2 separate regions of the Homo sapiens genome follow, and region 2 is linked to region 1. Evidence: promoter capture Hi-C in 16 types of primary human blood cells and fetal thymus (Javierre and others, 2016). All regions are on one chromosome and are shown on one strand. Each heading gives the region's core, a stretch centred on a gene start or on the middle of the fragment in contact. The rest is flanking DNA. Distances are from core to core; before and after follow the strand shown. Region 1 holds the start of AUH (AU RNA binding methylglutaconyl-CoA hydratase). Region 2 has its middle 20 kb from the start of NFIL3.

Region 1 (5,738 bases), core at 1,551-4,050:
AGGTCACATCACAGCATGAATCCTGCTCTATAAAGCTCACACAACTGAAAGATGAATGTAACAACTTTGCTGAGACTTTAAAAACAAAACAAAATACGTTCTGCTTATACAAAATGAAAAAATACACTCAAAGTGAAAGTCCTCCTTCCCTAGAACCAGCTCATTCCCTTCCCCAGAAGAAGCCACAGTTATCACAGTTACATGTAATGTAACCTTCCAGAAAATGTTCAACGTATCTACATACAGAAATAGAGTTGTATATTACCATTTGGCTTGTTGTTGCTATTTTACATAAATGGATCATATGTTCTGTTGGAGCTATTCTACATAAATAGGTTCATACATTTTTTCTTTTTTTTTAAGAGACAAGGTCTTGTTGTGTCACCCAGACTGGAGTGCAGTGGCTCCATCATAGCTCACTGCAGCCTCAAAGTCCTGGGCAGTCTCCATCTCAAAAGAAAAAAAAAGAAAAGAAAAGGAAATTTGGTTATAGAGCTATGCCTCCTACAACAAATTACAAATATGGAGCCCAGATAACAGATGAGACCTGGTGTATTCTGCACTACTTACCCCCACCCACCTAAAGTGCTGCATGCTGTTTGAGGCTCCTGTGACTAGGAGAGTTATCCTATTCCTTAGAGGCTGCTGAGAGCACCAAATTTTGGACCCACCTCTAAGAGAAATAAAGGCACCCAGGAAACTCCTTCACCTGTAGTACCCTTGACCTCATGTTTTTCTTTGCACTGCTTATTGCTGGTTCAACAGTAAAGCAAAGCAAAGCCTAGGTAATGTTAGCCAAGCCTGAGTCGTCATTCTTGCCAATTCTCAAAGGAGGCGGGGTCAACTTTAAGAAACCATGATGTATGTCCTATCTCATCAGGAAATCAAGGCTAAAGAAAAAAAAAAAAAGAAACCATGATACCCAAAAAAATTTTCGTTTATTATCTTTTATTATCTGATATTCTCTCTTCTGTCCATTCAGATCCTAACTTAAAGTCTGTCCAGACATTCTGCACAAATATTCCTTTAATTGCATTCAAGTCATAACGACCAAAAAAATAGAATATGGTGCATATTAGTAGCTGTACTTGCAATCCCTTTATATCTAACATATTGTTGGTACACTTAACGGAAGTGAAGTCCCGGCATGACTAAGCTTACCCAAAAGATGATGGCATTCAGGCTCTAATCACTCCAGTGCTAGTCTATGCTTCCAGCTGAATTTCTTACTATTCTGCTTATGCCACACTTGCCTTATGTTACGTCCCAAATACACCACACATGTTCACATCTCCATGCCTTTGACCATGTTCTTGTCTCTGTCTGGAATAATAAGTAAGGAATAAAGTCATTCATCACACTCCTGAAGCACTGCTACGTGCTAGTGGCAATTTACATTAACAATCTCATCTCATCTTCATAACAAACCTATAAAGTTGGTATTGTTTTTCCTGTTTTACACGTGAGATAAGTCTGCCCAAGAACCCTCACAAATGGCAAAATCCACTGCCTATTAAAGAATGCCTTGGAACCCCTTTCAAATGGCGAAACCCTGCAGGTATTACAGCCCTTTCCTCTTACCATGCCTTGAAAGTTCACACAGCCTACTAATAACCAGGATCTGCTTCACTACACTAAAACCAATCACGACTTACACGCTTTTCACTTCTGCTTAACAGATTATAGGTGCTCAACAAATGCATGTCAAAATTAAAACACTGGTCCTCTGGCTTAACCCGGAGGTTAAGGGTGGAAACTGCTATTCCACCCTTCACGACCCTTTTAGCTTTTCCCTGCACTGCCAGTGAAAGGAACTGAGCTGTAACAGTATTCCCTAGGATTGTCAGCCTCCTTCAAAGCCTTCAAAGCTCTGTATTGTATTGCTAATGATGTCTCCTCCCGTAGAAGGTAGCTCAAGGGCAAGATCCATACCATCCACATTCTTATCGCCAGAGCTGAGGAAAATAAAAAGTGCTCAAAATTGTTTAAATGAAGTGGAACAGTCCCTCAAGACTAACTTTCTAAGAGAAAATGAACAAGAGGAAAAATTGTTCCAGCTGAGCAGCTTCAAATTTAAGATTCTCCGTAATAATAAAAGGCAGTTTCACCGCAGCTTTTACAACTCCACCACTAATAGCTGAGTTTACAGAAAGCCATTACACAGCAACAATAAAGCCTGGTAGCAAGGATTAAATCCCCAGGGTATATATTGACCTTGGCTTGTCTGGAGCGGAGGGCGTAAGCTGCACTTCTGTTTGCCGCGCTGAATGCGGTCACTTTACAGGTAAGCTGCTCGGGGGTACACGTTTAGGTTATTAAAAGCAAGAAATAGGTGCACAAGGAAGCGGCCACGCTGGGTGAGTAGGGAGGTGAGAAAGGGGAGGGACCCAGGTTCGGTGCGCCTGCCTGACCTCGACCCCGCGTCCTGCCGGCGGACGCTGCACCTTATGCCCGTCCTGAGAGCGAGCGGCCGCCCGCTGCCCCGCGCCTGCCCAGCGTTCGCACCTCACCTCGGTTCTCCTCCTCCAGGTGCCGCACCCGCAGCTCGTCCTCCGTCTTCATCTCAGAGCTGTAGCCCCTTTTCGGGGCGGGACCCCCGGCCGCAGGTACCCAGCCCTGGGCCCAGATCGCCGGGCCCGCTCGCCGGCCTGCCAACGAGCCGGGCAGCCTCAACCCCGGGCAGAGCCACGCACTGCAAGCGGCCACCAGGCGGGCGCCGCCAGCATGCAGGGATCCCAAGGCCCCAGGTGCCGCCGCCACCGCGGCCGCCATGTTGTCTGTTTACGGCGTGGACCTGCGACGGCCGCTCCGCCCCCGCCCGGCGCCGACCTGCCGCGCGCACGCGCACGGCGTCCGGACCCGCCGCCTCGCTCCGGCTTGGCCCCGCCCTCCGGAGCCGTGTTCCCGCCCCTCACTGCCCCGCCGAAGCCCGGTGACCCGAGGCCTTGCCCCATTCTCCAAGCGAGATTGGATGGTTTGTCCAATACAAAAGGAAAGAAAGTAGTTTTCCAAGGTTATGGAATAATTCAGGGAAGACTTTTCTATAAGAACCACCCGGAGGGAATTATCTCCCCGTACTCCCTGGACCATGCCCTGCGGTCCTGTGTTAAGTAAGCTGCAAAAGTGAACAAAAAAGTTTTGTCTCCTCAAGTTGGCTGAAAGTGTGGCAGCCCATCGTTGGTCACTGCCTTACTTATGGATCTCAGGTTGTTGGTTTAGCGTCCCTGATAAGCATAAATGATGTTTACTACGTGGCGTTCAGGAAAAGGATGAGAACAGCAAACAGGCAAAGGAGTTCTTTCTCCAGCCCACCCACTCGTACCGATGTCCCATGGCCCTTCCTGGACGGAAAGAGTCTTACAGGGGTTCAAACAAGCCATACGCTGAGATGGGATTTAGAGTATGTAGCTCTTCCAGAAACTCGGGATATCAATTTAGTGTGTAGGTACTCATCAAAGCACGTTGCAGTATAATTAATGCTACCTAGCTTTTATCAGATCTCTAATGGGAAAGCTTGCATTTAAGAATACTGGGCAGGGGGCGGTGGCTCACGCCTGTAATCCAAGCACTTTGGGAGGCCGAGGCAGGTGGATCACCTGAGGTCAGGAGTTTGAGACCAGCCGGGCCAACGTGGTGAAACCCTGTCTCTACTAAAAATACAAAATTAGCCAGGTGTGGCGGCACACGCCTGTAATCCCAGCTACTCGGGAGGCTGAGACAGGAGAATTGCTTGAACCCGGGAGGCGGAGGTTGCCCTGAGCTGAGACTGCACCATTGCACTCCAGTCCAGGCAACAAGAGTGAAACTCTGTCTCAAAAAAAAAAAAAAAAAAAAAAAAGAATACTGTTTGAAAAGTGTGCTGCTATGAGCATACGTCTAGTGCCACAGAAATTTCTTGTATTTTTTAGTCCTAAGCAAAACATCCTTCATTATGTCCTCAACTTTTATCCAATGTAGAAACAAAAAGTAGACTGAATTCCATTACTGCATCTGCTGTAAAATGATGTTGAAGGCACTTTTATTTTTATTTTTATTTTTTATTTTTTGACAGGTTCTGGCTCTGTCGGCCAGGCTGGAGTGCAGTGGTGTGATCGCCTCTCGCTGCAACCTCTGCATCTCAGGCTCAAATGATCCTCCCACCTCAGCCTCCTGAGTAGCTGGGATCACAGGCACACACCACCACACCTGGGTAATTTTTGTATTTTTAGTAGAGATGGGTGTTTCTATGTTGGCCAGGCTGGTCTTGAACACCTGACATCAAGTGATCCACCCAACTTGACCTCCCAGAATGCTGGGATTACAGGTGTGAGCCACCATGCACAGCCCACTTTTTATTCTATCTTTTGTAAAGTTCCATGCAGGAAAATTTTCCTGAAGTTTACTACAAGGAAAACTTTGCTTCCTTTGTATCTTTCCTCTTTTCTGATAATGATGTACATGTTGACTGCTGGGTGTTGTGATTTTTATTGTTATGGTTTCTTTCTAATTTGGTCTTGTGGTCACCAGAGGGAGGGTAAATCTGGAGGTGACAGGGAGTTCAGCCAGTGGAAGGGGGTCAAGGAAGGGGCACTTGTGGAGCTAAAGCCTCTGTTGGGGTCCAGCGTGTTACCCAAGCAGTTTCCCATGGAAGTTCTAATTGGTGAGTTTAGAACAAGCAGGCACAAGTTCCATGGAGTCACCCTGTCACTGTGAGGTGGTCACTGGAGCCCATCTACACAGTCCATGTGGGTTATGGAGGTCAACAGGTGAGTCAAGCAGGCTGCATTTACCTGTCCCATAGGGAGATGGTCACCAGGAAGCAGTTGCATTAAGCAGATATCTGGATGGATCACATTGAAGAACTGGGAGGAAGCAGAGAACTGGAAACTGTATCAAAGGTGATTGAGCCCTGCTTCTCATATGAGAAAGTTAAACATATTCAAAATGGATACCAAGGCAAAATAAAATTATGAGAATTACTGTACTAGAGATGGCAGCGGCTGCTCCAGACGGCCTACTGCTGCAGCAGGGAGGCATGGCCAGGGCTGCACGCTCTCTGGCGGGAGCCAGGGACAAGCGGGAGACCCACCCCTTCTGAGTTGGGGTGGGAACTCCCTGGTTGCCTCTGCAGCACAGCTGCAGACTGGGGCCTCCTGCTCCACAGAGCAGGCAGAAGCACCACCCAAGGTGTGGCTGCAGATCTGAGCCTCCCTGTGCTCTTAGGGGGCCAGGAGCAGGCAGGAGCCCTGCCCTCCCCGAGGGCAGCTGTAGCCACCCAAACCACGGCTGCAGCCCCAGGCATCCCTGCACTCTTGGGGGCCCAGGAAGGCCCTGCATGCCCTCACAGGCTCAGAAATGCCTGCTCCTGCTGCCTGGCTTCTCCCTGCTGTTGGCACCTGCTCCATTCTTGGAGCAAAGTTGAGGCTGAACCCAGGCACCATGAATGGCAGTGGGAGGCAGACAGACTCCTGGGCAGAAGGGGGTGGGTCCCCAGTGAGGCCCCAGCTTCTGGCCAAGGAGGGCCTGAAGGCTGGGGGTTGGGCTGCCAGCCCCATGAACCAGAGTGGGAACTTGTGGTGCCTTTTCCGAGCCTGCCCATGGCTGCCCATGGACCAATCAGCGGCAGGCACTTGCTCCCCTCTGAGGCCCATAAAATCCCCAACTCAGCCAGAGCTGAGCAGATGATGGGACAACCAGCTGCAGAGAGGAGCTACCCTCTCAGCTGAGAGCTTCAGAGACTTGCAGAGATGTCAGAACTA
Region 2 (5,738 bases), core at 1,780-4,279, 42 kb after region 1:
CACCATGCTTGGCCTATAGTACACTTTGCTCTATCCTAGAACTTTCTGGCCTGAGGCTAATTTACTCTCAAACTTAATGAATGGGAAGAGTGACACTTCCCTCATTTCTGCCTTATTCCATGACTCTGAGGAGGTGCTAAGATGCTTCCTTCTACCTGGAAAAAGTGAGTTTTTAAGTGTGTTTTGCAAGCTTTAGGCCTAATTTGCATGTTCACAGCAAGTGAAGTGGAAAATATAGACAATTATCTTGATTTTTCTAGAAACACACTCATTTAAAATATCAAAAAATTCAGAATATTTTCCCTTGAATTATTTCAGTAATTATCCCAATTTTGTTCTGTATTGATGTTGGTATGATATTAGGTGCCACTTGGGGCATACAATACAAAAGCAACTACAAACTGAAGAAGCAAAAAATAACATCATGATACTTATCATACTTTGCGGAAAATGAAGAACAGGTTCATTACAATGCACCATCTTCAGTGACCCTGGCTCTGCTGGGGTTTCACTGTTGTTGAAGTGTTCAGAACACACTAATGTACCCAGGGAAGGAAGAGCTCTTTGGCTTCTCCAGATCTTTTTCTTGACTCCTGCTCACCTGCTCTCCTGACTCTCCCACCTGGATTCACCTTGAGCTGACACCCCTGATAAGTCTTTCAGCAGCATTTACAAGGTTACATTTCCTCCAGCCATTCCTAAGTGAATCAAAGGCATTTTCTTAAGCCTGGAATTCAAGGTCCTTTGGCAACTGGTTCTATGTTCATCTTTGAATTCTGTTACTAATCCTCTGAATAAATTCCCTTCTGCAATGATGCAGAGTACTTCATCACTTTACCGCCCCCTGCCCCCAACAGTAGTATTCATGCCCAACACGTCTTCCCTGCTCATCCAAGTTCTAAATTTTCCTTCTCATCTAGGTTCTTTCTTTTTTGCTTTCTTTTTATGTCTTTTTTTTTTTTTCCTGAGACAGGGTCTTGCTGTGTCACCCAGGCTGGAGTGCAGTGGTACAATAACGGCTCACTGCAGCCTTGACCTCCTGGGCTCAAGTGATTGTCCTACTTCAGCTTCTTGACCAGCTGGGACTACAGGCACACACCACCACACTCGGCTAATTTTTAAATTTTTTGCAGAGATGGGGTTTCCCCATGTTGCCCAGGCTGGTCTCGAACTCCTGAGCTCAAGCAATCCTCCTTCCTGGCCTCCCAAAGTGATGGGATTACAGGTGTGACTACCACACCTGACTAATCCAGGTTCTTTAATTGCCAAAATGTCCTTTAGTTTCTTCCCAGTTCTGTTTCCTGAGTTTCTTTGGTAGATATATTTCTTTTTTTTTTTTTTGAGATGGAGTCTCGCCTTGTCGCCCTCGCTGGAATGCAGTGGCACAATCTTGGCTCACTGCAACCTCCGCCTCTTGGGTTCAAGTAATTCTCTGCCTCAGCCTCCCGAGTAGCTGGGATCACAAGCATGCGCCACCATGCCCAGCTAATTTTTGTACTTTTAGTAGAGACAGGGTTTCACCATCTTGGCCAGGCTGGTCTTGAACTCCTGACCTTGTGATCTGCCCGCCTTGGCCTCCCAAAGTGCTAGAATTATAGGCGTGAGCCACTGCACCCAGCCAGATAGATTTCTTTCTACCTATTCTACCTCTTGATAATGTACTCTATTGGCTCTTACTACTTTTAGCATTTTGGTCTTTCCTTTACAGGTAGATTTAAAACTCTTCACAAGGAGATAGTTTCTTTTTGTTATGTTTCCTTTACAGCATGTTGCACAGAACTGGGTATCCATTAGGCGATTCATGGTCATTGAAAATTAGCAGGTAGGGGTGTTCCCTAACCCCTGAGATCTAGATAAGATGACCTCCAGGTCTTAGTTGCATGGGTCGTCACAGTCCAAGTCTCCTTCCAGATTCTGCAGGTTCCTCGGGTCAGCCTTCATGGCCATGGCCTTGGACTCCTGCTTTCAGACAAGCTGCTCTGCAGAATGCTCACTCAGATATAAAGTCCAGCAAACAAAAACTCACAAAAAGCATTTCTGAGTCTAGTAGGACCTACTGAAAATCTAAGGAGGAAATATTCTGGACTGTTTCCATTCGGCAATGGAAACTATTTCAAATCAGACAGTGGCCTTCTGGGTCCTGTGGCTGCCCACCCACAGGGAGTCTGCATTGGCTCTTTAGCCAGGCAGGGTTCCCTCCCTTCTCTTTTCTCCTCCATCCTCTTTCTTTCAAAAGCAATCCTCCCCGCTGCCCTAAAAAAGCACAAATCACCACCATCATCTGACTCACTTTCTCTGCAAAGCAACTTACCTATGTTTGTGCCAGGCATCTACAAACATCACGGTTTTTAGCATTTCTGCTGGGATCCCAGTATCATATCAAAGTTCTTTTCTCAGAAAGAAAGTTCCCTCTCTCACTAGAAATCTGACATAGCTGTTAGAACAACTTTGTTTTTTAACCCTGTTATACTGAAATATGTTTACTTCAGGGGTTATTAATTTTGAGGTTCCTTCCTGTTCTTCATCTCCCTTTTGTTAGATTGCTATGTTATTCTTGAACAACTTCCTTTTTCTCCCTCCTTTCCTACCATGATTTCTTCCATGTACTCTTTCAAAAGTTTCTTGACCTCCAGAACTTTGGACTTTATTAAGGTTTTTTCCCCAAAGTAACCTTTTCCTTCTCAAGTGGATCAGATTGACAAAAGTGAGGTATAAAAAATGGCCGTCATACCTGTCTGGGCTACTTAGCTGAAATAGTTTACTTTAGAAGGCTCTACACAAGTACTTCTGTTTGCCTCTCTGTAGACTTATCGATACTCAGCAGACAGTAACCACTCTTTGCCGGTCTCCAGCATGACTTAGCAGTGACAGCTTCTCTCTCCCAACTTTCTAAGTAGCGCCTCTTCGTCAGGAAGTGTCGTCTATTTTCTGGTGCTCATACTACCCCGGGTCTTATTTTCACTAATTCTTGAATTAATTTTTTCCTTACATCCACTAGAATCAAAATAAGCAACCTCTGGGAATTACTGCCAAACTCTCTCTCTCTTTTTTTTCCCTCGAGATGGAGTCTTGCCCTGTCACTCAGGCTGGAGTTCAGTGGCATGATCTCAGTTCACTGCAACCTCCGCCTCCCGGGTTCAAGCAATTCTCTTGTCTCAGCCTCCCAAGTAGCTGGGATTACAGATGCGCGCACCACGCCCGGCCAATTTTTATATTTTTAGTACAGACAGGCTTTCACCATGTTGGCCAGGCTGATCTTGAACTACTGACCTCAGGTGATCCGCCTGCCTCAGCCTCCCAAAGTGCTGGGATTACAGGTGTGAGCCACCGTGCATGGCTGACTCTTTAAACCAGTTGTATTTTTTATTACCTTTCCAGAGATATCCTTGTGTACCTTTTTCTGGGAAGACTATATGGTTCATAATTCTGCATGTTCTCTTACTTCTGTATCCTCACTGGTATTTTGAGTATGCCACAATTTCACATCCTTGGCAAGATTTTTTTTTTCTTTTTTTTCTTTTTTTTTGAGATGGAGTCTCGCTCTTGTCACCCAGGCTGGAGTGCAGTGGCACAATCTCAGCTCACTGCAACCTCTGTCTTCTGGGTTCAAGTGATTCTACTCTCTCAGCCTCCTGAGTAGCTGGGAATACGGGTGCCCGCCACCACACCTGGCTAATTTTTGTATTTTTAGTAGAGACAGGGTTTCACCATGTTGGCCAGGCTGGTCTCGAACCCTTGACCTGAGGTGATCCGCCCGCCTTGTCATCCCAAAGTGCTGGGATTACAGGCGTGAGCCACCACACCCAACCACAAGTTTTTCTTATTTAAATTTTTTTGGTGCAAGTAGCTGGTGGCCCAGCACAAGACATCCCAGTGGTAATTAATACTACACTTCAACAACTCCCCATCTCTGCCCCACAGAACACAAAGCAACAAAAACCAGGTGGGTGCTGCCAATAATTTTCATTTCTGAGAAATAATTCATAGTTTTCAAAAAATGAGCTTAACAGCTACTAGTTTTTTAAAAAATGTAACATGATTTCTTTTAAGGTTTTAATTAACAACGGCTGTGTGTCAAAAAGGTGCCCATTTGTGAGGAATCTGACTTCAGGAGAGGAAACACGTGTGCATATCCATGAGCAATGGAAGACCTACGCTGATGGGGGCTGTTTTAATTTGGGAATGTTTGCTGGTTGAGGACAAAAAAGAATAAAGTTATTACACAGTTATTATATATCTATACAAGTAGATGCTTAGACAGCAGTTTTACTGATTGACAGAGCAAAGTCACTTTGGATACTCCCTTGGACTCCTTCCTTTTCTCATGCAGGTTGGAGAGACGCCTTAGTCTCATTTCCCGGGTATATCGGGGGAAGAACAAAGTGCCTGACCTGACCGCTGCTTTTCATGGCCAGCTGGGAGAGTTTCGACAAGTCAACCTCTCAGAGTCTCAGCATTCCTCTTTATAAAAATGGGCACAACAATGAAAAACCGAAAATCAAAAAAGGCCAAACAATGGGCACAAGATGGCTATGCAGCTGTGCAGCCTTCCCGCGGGGCGCATGCGCATGCGTGCACTGCACAGGGGCGCTGTGGGCTACCAGGGCGCAGGCCACCCCAACCACCCCCGCCCCCGGCCGCCGACTCTGCCCTGCGCTGCTCCCCACTGCGATTGGCCTGGCTGGTGGCTGTGGCTGCTGTGTCCTCGCCCAGCCAATGCCCCTGAGGATCACTCAGGTTCCCCACAGGGCTCTCCTGTTCAGTCACTGGGGCGGAACCCAGTGGGAGCTTTCTCGGGTTGTGACTGACCGCAGCTTCCTCTCACTATCTAGGCCTGCCGGATAGCCACCTTGCTGGGAATTCTTAAACCTTCTGGAGCTCTGAGGTTTGTGTTTCTTATTTTTGAATATAGTTATACATTTATTTGGTTTTAAACACATTTTCTCTCATTCTTGGGGGCTCTGTGAGTGGGAAGGAGAGGCGGTGGTGTTTGGTTGGTTGACATCATGAAACCAAAGTATCACGGTGTAATTTTACTTTGCGTTTCTTTGGTCTCTAGTGGGATTGGAATTGCTTGTTTATGATATTCCTTTTATTCCTAAGGAGTTACATTTTTTTTGGGGGGGGGGGGCGATAAGTAAGGTCTTGCTCTGTTGCCCAGTCTGGGGTGCAGTTGTGCCATTGCAGCTCACTACAGCCTAGAACTCCTGGGCTTGAGCGATCCTCCCTCCTCAGCCTCCTGCAGAGTTAGGACTACAGGCATGTGCCACCATACCCAGCTAATTTTGGGGAGGTTTTGGGGGTGGGGGTAGTGACAGGATCTCACTATGTTGCCCATTCTTGGCTCAAACTCCTGGACTCAAGCAATTCTCCCACCTAGGCCTCCCAAAGTGCTGGGATTATAGGCGTGAGCCACCACCCCCGGCCACGAGGGGTCACATTTAAAAATGATCCCAATGATAACTTAGATCCTTGAAATGAAAAGGCAAAAGAAGGCTAAGGAAAAGAGTTCAAATGGTGATATCTGAGTGTGCTACACACCATGAGCGCCAATATTCACAGATTACTGGGGAAGGTGCTGTTTGCTTCTTCACTGCTCTGAGAGATCAAAGTTCTTCCTAAAAAAAAACTACTCGAGATTTACCTTTCTTGCTATTATCTACTTATTCTCCCTTTCAGTAGCCCAGAGTGTAAGGTTCATCCCTTTTTGGACAATTTACCAATAGTTTTCTTAGTAC

Evidence for each region. The method cuts DNA at HindIII sites, captures the fragments that hold promoters and counts their contacts. A CHiCAGO score of 5 or more calls a contact.
Region 2: a fragment that was not itself captured here is called in contact with the fragment with the promoter of AUH in region 1 in 2 of 17 cell types (neutrophils and megakaryocytes); the score reaches 6.0 in neutrophils.

Annotation. Positions count from the first base shown.
Region 1 is chr9:91,359,118-91,364,855 of GRCh38, forward strand. It overlaps AUH (AU RNA binding methylglutaconyl-CoA hydratase), which reads right to left and starts at 2,801. Exons shown (of 10, transcript NM_001698.3): 1 at 2,511-2,801. The coding sequence starts at 2,772. RefSeq lists silencers at 2,532-2,971, 5,716-5,738. The HindIII fragment of the contact is 2,357 bases long and covers 1,155-3,511 here.
Region 2 is chr9:91,401,264-91,407,001 of GRCh38, forward strand. No RefSeq gene overlaps it. Among named protein-coding and RNA genes, the nearest start is that of NFIL3, 20 kb to the right of the region's middle. The HindIII fragment of the contact is 5,682 bases long and covers 189-5,738 here.